Linked DNA regions of Homo sapiens: region 1 is linked to region 2. The links are contacts of gene promoters, found by promoter capture Hi-C in human tissues and cell types (Jung and others, 2019). All regions are on one chromosome and are shown on one strand. The core of a region is centred on a gene start or on the middle of the fragment in contact, and the rest is flanking DNA. Distances in the headings are between cores, read along the strand shown.

The links. The method cuts DNA at HindIII sites, captures the fragments that hold promoters and counts their contacts. A contact is called where the count stands out against the background at its distance.
Region 1: a contact is called between a fragment that was not itself captured here and the fragment with the promoter of BPIFB6 in region 2, in 2 of the 25 tissues and cell types used here (lymphoblastoid cells and spleen).

The regions. Positions count from the first base shown.
Region 1 is chr20:33,249,200-33,252,721 of GRCh38, reverse strand. The region is part of intron 1 of LOC105372593 (a long non-coding RNA gene); the gene reads left to right. Among named protein-coding and RNA genes, the nearest start is that of BPIFA1, 15 kb to the right of the region's middle. The HindIII fragment of the contact is 7,810 bases long and covers 1-3,522 here.
Region 2 is chr20:33,030,127-33,033,828 of GRCh38, reverse strand. It overlaps BPIFB6 (BPI fold containing family B member 6), which reads right to left and starts at 2,181. Exons shown (of 15, transcript NM_174897.2): 1 at 2,085-2,181; 2 at 746-845. The coding sequence starts at 2,181. The HindIII fragment of the contact is 18,408 bases long and covers 1-3,702 here.

The DNA.
Region 1 (3,522 bases), core at 400-2,899, 220 kb before region 2:
TTGTAGTTGTTTGTTTACTGATTTTTCTGAACAAATTCTGTAAAGTCTGTATTCTTTGTCATGTGTGGCTACTGCTGTGTCTGCTTAGTTAGCTTACTGGTCAGCTAATGATTGTGTTGGGAAAACCAGTCTCATGCATGCAGCCTTTCGACTCCCACTCAGTCATATAAGAACAGGTCTTGGGCTTGGAACACTTCCTTACCAAGAGATAAAGGGCTCACGTGGCCTGTTCCAGGCCCTGCATGGGAATATATTTCCCTGTTTTAGATTCAATGTGTGCCCCTTTGTTCTGCTTAAGTGTATATGTCAATGGCCCTCAGATATGCCCCCAGCTTTTGGTATTTCTAACTCCACAGGAGAGGGGTCAGAGTCCATCCGTGGCATGAGAGGGGTGTCCATAGCCAATTGCCTTGCACTGGCTATTGGGGGGATCTGCTGGCATGGGGGACAAATGCATACGATTGAAGCTGATTTTGCTTTGTCTCTTCTCTACATAAGTAAAGTGTTATATTTTCCTTGGTGACTCCCATACCAAGATAAAATGGGCAGAAGTGTTTGGAGCCCTCTCCTAGGGTTGGTAACCTGTGCATGGTGTTCCTCTCCCCTGGGACTGGTCACTGGTGCAGGACGTTCAGCTTAACAGTTTGACATAGTGTGCAGGGTTGCCAAGGAAATAGACCATCACATGGTGGAAAGGCAAGGGCTTGTCAGCCCCATTGCCCAAGGTGGTACCAGCTCCTCTGAGGGGTCATAGACTGACTGAGGTGCTCGCTGCCCAGGGATAAATGGAACATAATGTCAACTCCCATGGTGTCCCAGGGACCACAGATGATGTCTGGGGGGAATGGGGGGCCCTGTGCAGGGAATCCTGCCTGGTCCAGGTTGCTTGCAGGCCTCAAGTAAGGCCTGTTTCCAAAAAGTGCTGAACAACAGAAGGCATTGCTGAAAACTAGACTATTGAAATGAGGTCATTCTCTGAAGAGGATATCTGACAATAAAAGGGAAAATGTGGACAAAAGCCAGAAAGTCTAATACAGCCCGGATGGTGTGTTTGTTTGATAAAGGGATATTGCAGACTCAAATGTCTCAGGTTGAATGGCACAGTTAGGAATGGGGCCAAGGCTCCTGGCTTCCCACTGGAGACCAATGATCTTATACCCCTGTCAAGATAAATGGGAAAAGAAAGAGATTCAGACTTTTCTGGGGCTCGTGGATACTCGTTCCCATATGACAATATTTCTGGATTTCCTTAGGGGAAAAATTAAACTGATGTCATTGGATGGTTTGGGGGTTAACATGGTGATCCATGGTGCTTACCTGCTTGTGGTACTTATGTGCTTGCGAGTGAGGCTCTTTGAGCCATTTTGAGTGCTGGTGACCATGGTTCCTTGTGTCGAGTGCATTACGGGCATTGATATTTTGGCTGCTTGTAGCACAGAACATCACCACTGCCTGAGGGGATATTCCCCCTCACAGCTGAGAATTTGAGCCGTAACAGTGAGGTGTGTCCACTCTACCTGCCACTTAAATTCTCCAAGCCTCAGTAGGTTATTCCACAAATACAGTACTGCATACCAAGTGGAGAAGAGGATATTACTCTGTGAATTTGGGATGCGCTTCTGTAGGAATGTTACAAACTACCCTGTCAATGTAACAGCTCAGTCTGGCTGATTGAAAAGCCTCCAGGGTATGGTGGCTGATGGTAGACGGAATGCAGGCTGAATGTTGGGGTTTGCCCTGGGCCCATGAGGTGTCAGATGTCATCACTGTCACTGAGGCAGTGGGAACCCTTACTGGAGATTAGCGTGCTGTTATTAACTTGGTTAGTGCTTTTACTCAATCCCCTTGTGACCAATTTGCATTCACAAGGAACTGCCTGCATAATACTTTCACTATTCTTCCTCAGGGATACCTCAATTCCCCTGCCATATGCCACCAGTGGGTGGGGCTTGACCCTCAACAAGCCCAAGTCCTCATAGAAGATTTAGTCATCCATTGCATAAATGATATCCTGATAGTAGGGCCTACTGAAAAACAGGCCATTGATACAATAACTGGTGTTGGCTGGACTATAAATCCAGATAAAGTCCAGGACTCAGCACAATAAGTGCATGTCCCAGGGGTCATTTGTATAGGAAACCAAAAAAGTATCCCCAGTACAATTGTTGGCCCTAGTGACATCCACTAATAAACAGGAGGCCCATTAGCTGATAGGCCTATTTGTATACAGGAGACAGCATATGCCCTGTCTGGGTGCTCTTTTGGCCTTCCTCGTCAAGGTGACCCACAAAACCACCAGTTTTGAATGGGGCCCCTTGCAGCAGCAGGACTTGGAAGTAGTTCAACAAGTCATGGCTCAGGTACTGCCTTTGGGACCTTTGGAACCTGCTAGCTCAATGGGACTCCGTGCGTCCATGACCGCCAAGCATGCTGATTGGAATCTGTGGCAACAGGAAACTGCCACTGGCGTGCACCAGCCTCTTGGCTATTGGACACATGACTTGCCTGTGGTGGCCACCAGATACACCCCCTTTGAAGGGCAACTCCTTGCTTGCTATTGGGCACTAGAGGAGACTGAGCATTTTATGGCAGGAGTGCCACCTGTGATGCTGTAACCTGTACTGGGGTGCTTACAAATCCCACCAATAAAACCGGACAAGCTCAACAGAGCTCAATCATTAAATGGAAATGGTACATCCAAGTCAACTAGGACAAGTAGACTCCATGAACAAATAGCCAGCTTCCCAGAAGCACCAAGCAACCCACAGGGAGATGCTCTGAACCCTCCTGTGGCTACCTGGGACCCAAGATTCAAAGATGTGTCTACTGACTATATGACCTGGTTTACTGATGGCTCTGCAAAACTAAAGGCAAATGGGGTCCACTGGGCTGCAGCTGCCCCTCAGCCAGCAGATGGCCATCTTTTGGCTGGGATTGGAATTGGACATTCTGCCTAATGAGCTGAATTATGTGCAGTGATGACAGCTGTGGGGGCCATTCTACCACCATATCTTGTTACATTTTCACTGACTCAAGGGCCATTGCCAACAGCCTAGCCATCTGGTCAGGAGAATGGTAACTGAGTGACTGAACCATCACAGAATCCCCTGTGTGGGAACAAAAACTATGACAGCAGCTTGCTGCCTGGAAGGAGACAAATGTTTGTCACTCCTGTGGATGATCATAGCAAAGGACCTTTTAAAATGGAATGTGGACAGAAGTCTTGTGCCAGTTAAGCTTGTGCCCCACAGCCAGCAACAATCGACAACTGAAAGTCCACCGCTATGGTTTGGATATCATTTGTTTGATCGCCAGAAGTGATGGTGTTGGGAGGTGGGGCCCAGTGGGAGGTGTTTGGGTCATGGGGGTGGATCTCTCACTGATGACTTAGTGTCATTCTCCTGGTAGTGATGGAGTTCTTGCTCTCACAAGACTGGATTGGTTCTGGGAGGATGTATTAGCACCCACGGGAGAGGGTTGTTATAAAGTCAGGACACCCCTTGAGTTTGGCCCTTCTCAGCA
Region 2 (3,702 bases), core at 932-3,431:
TTCTTTGTCATGAGGCTGATTTGTGCATTATTGGATGTCTAATAGCATCTCCGACCTCAGCCCAGTAGATGCCAGTAGCATTCCCCCAGTCCCCGCAACTTGTGACAATGAAAAATGTCCCTGGACATTGCCAAATGTCTTCTTGGAGGCAAAATCACCCCTGTTTGAGAATCACCAGTTGAGATCCAGGGTAACAAAAGATGTGGCACACATACCCCCACTTGCCCATCCTGAGCTCTTGGCAGACATTGCTAGTTGATCACAGTCCTAGTTCCTGCCGAGTGCAGACAGTGCCTCAGAGCCCTCCCAAGTGCATCGTTTCAGGCAGCCCCTACTGATCAATCTCATGTGGCACTGGCAGAGGAACCAGTTTCCTCTTGTCATTAGATGATTGTTGATGCCTTTCCAGCTCTACCATTTGAGGATGTTTTCATTTAATTTCACGTACATTCAATGAGTTCATGTTGCATGCAGAGTTGAAATTTGACTTTCCAACCTCATTTCCTCCTCAAAATGACCCTGCTCACTACAAAGCAGAAATTGTCCCCAGTGAATGGCTGAGGAGGTCCAGGCACAGGCAGGAGCAGTGACCTACCCAAGGCCACACAGCAAGACAGCACAAGGCAGGGAAGAGACCCCACATCCCTCACCAGCTCCATTACCTGGCCTGCTAAGATCTTGGGCACAGCAATCCCCACCACCCTCTGCCCTAACCACCACCCTCCAGCTCCCCTCCCCTACTCACTTGGTGATGCCCTTGATAGGTTTCATCCCTGGCTGTTTCTTGCCTGCCTCGGCTGCCATCTTCTCCAGGATATGACTCTCATCCATGGCGCTCTGGACCTCTGGAGTGGAGACACTTAGTTGGAGAGATTTTCCCTGGGCCAATCACTCAGGTATCCCAGGCCACTCACCGTCACTGTGCCCCACCCTGGGCTGGACGATGGCAGAGACCCAGAGATGAGTCCCACAGCGCCCCAGCCTAATGGGGGAAGATGGAGTCACCAGCAATGACAGTAACAAGCTGTAGGAGCCGCACGAGGGTTTAGGTAGGAAGAGAAGAGCTGGGGAAGGCTTCCAGGAGGAGGTGACAGATCAGTTGGTACTTGAAAGGGGAATAGTAATTTTCAGCAGGAAGCAAAGGGATAAAAGATATCAGTCTGGACAGAGGGCACAGCAAGTGCAAAGGTGGGTGGGAGAGAAGGTGGCACAGTTGGGGGAAGAGGATAGATTCAGCATGGCTGGAGGGTGAGGACAGACACGACAGAGAAACTGGAGCAGTTTGCAGGGGGCATGTAGTGAAGCTCTTGAACCCTAGGGTACTGACTTTATCCTGTGGACCAGCCACTCCCAAGCCTAGGTGATTAGGGGACTCCTCTGGGGACTTGAATGCAGACTTTGGGCCTGAAGCAGAGAAATTCTGATTCCCCAAACCTGGAGGACCCAACCCCAAGTAACACCCCGCCAGAAACACCTCCATTATGGTCACAAGCTAATTCCAGAGAGGGCACAAACACTGAGCTGGTAGAACAGTCATTAGCCTTTTGTACCTGGATGTGACTCGGTTTCCCTTGTGCTAGTGGAGTGGGGGATGGAGGTGGAAAACACATTTTACTAAGGTCTCCTCCAAGAGATTATTCTATCCTGCTAGGGACAGACTGGTCACCCTATTTTACATTTCTTTACATTTCACCTTTACAGATGAGCAAACAGCAACACAGGGAGGCCAAGTAACTTGCCTGAGGTCACACAGCAAGTTGTTGCTGGGATTTGACCCTTGTCTGTCACTCCCACAGCCCACTTGTGGCTAAAACCCCTGCCATCAGGGCCAAGGAGAGACTCCAAAGGAGCAGGATTTTCAGCTCTGCCTCTAACTTGCAGGGGGAGCATGGGAAAATCATCCCATTTTCTCTGGTCCTTGGTTTCTCCCCTCTGTAAAGTGGGAGAATAATAATAACACTTGCTTATAAGTTTACTTGGAGCTCACGGGATGCTCCAGGATGTGCAACCAAGAGCAGTGACTACCTACCACCTACCCCAAGCACCGCCTCCCAGCTGCACGCCCGGGCCCACAAGCTCACCACGGTTCATGATGTCCATGCCCAACCGCAGCAGTGCCCCAGGGTCAGCTCGCGTGCCAGTCAGCAGGCTGCAGAGTGCCAGGCACAGGATCCGCAGCATGGCACCACCTGTGCCAAGGGGCCTGAATTGGGCGCAGCCCACCAGACCCTGGTCCCCTTGGGGACCTTCTGTCTCAGAGCAGATTGAGCCCCCTGGGTGTTTCTGGGGTCCAAGAGCCTTTAGACTCCAGCCAGTTCAGCAAACATGAGCACTGCCCTCTTCCAAGGGATTGAGGAACCCCCAGATTAAACACAGGGCCTCCAGCCACCCCCAGCTAGCTCATTTCCCTCTGTAAGCCTCAGTTTCCCCATGGACATGGTGTGTTCTGACCAGCCTGCAAGATGGGGTTGGAGGAAGGTTCAACTGCAGTTTTTCATGGGTTCAAGGACGGCTGAATGCTGGAGCCACAGAGAGAGTTCCAGACTTTCCTTGAGCCCCACACGGCATTGTGGGAGTGGGGAGCCCTGTGTCCCCACCTTGACCCTACAGCCAGGGTCCCTCCCCACCTCTTCCAGCTCAGCTCACTTCCATGTGGAACTCAGAAAGCTCAACTCTGAGCCCTGAAAGGCCTCTTGAGACATCGCCTCTCCGATAGAGAAACTGAGGCACAGACATTAGGTCTCCTAGCATAAGGACCTCCCACCCCAGACCTTTTCAGGTTCCCAGGAAAGCCCTACCCCACCCCGGGCCCATAGAAATCCTTCCCTCTTACTTACCAAGATCTGAAACTCTTCCAACCAAGGGCCAAGTGTATATTTCAGTTTTGAGCTTTGGCTGAAAAGAATGAAGGCAGGGCCCATGGGAGCAGGGCCTATGTCCACCCAGAGAGAGGAGGTTCCCACCAGACTCTCTCTTGCTCTCAGCGGGCTAAGTCACTGAGGGCTCACCTAATGCACAAACTAAGATGGGCCCTTACCATGGGCCTGCCTTCCCAGTCCAAGCCAATGCCTGCATTCATTCACTCATTCACTCATTCATTCATTCGGCTCACATCTATTGGGTGTCTTCTCTGTGCCAAGCAGACCGGGCTTGTCTCTTTTATCTCGGTGGCAGAGACAGCCCTGCTCCTCCTAAATCCTAAAGTCTGGCAGGGAACGAGAAGCAATAGGGTGGGATATGGGATAAAGGGGTCAGGGACGGACTCCTTATGGAGGAAACATTTAGGCTGAGACCTGAGGGATGAAAAGGAGCTTAAGTATCGAGAAGTGTTCAAGCCAATAGTCAATATTCACTAAATGGAAGATATATCTGGGCTTAAAATAATCCACAGTAGCGCTTCTCGACCACTGTGAATGCACAGGTGCGTGCCATGACGTGTGCTCATGTCCCGGCACACCCCATGTCAAATCTCTTTAAAAATCATCCCCAAAGGGGCTGTGAAATTCTGAGCCAGGCAACAGAGCTGGGAGGGGCTTGGTGAAGGTCTCCTCCAGCCCCAGCCCCATCTCACAGACGGGGTGACTGAGCCTCACCCCAGTCTCCCGTCCCCAGGCCAGAACTGATGCCAGGTGTTAGGGTCACTCAGGGCAGGGTCTTTTTTTGCCCTTTCAGAATAATAAGTGGCTTCAGGTAACGTGGTCA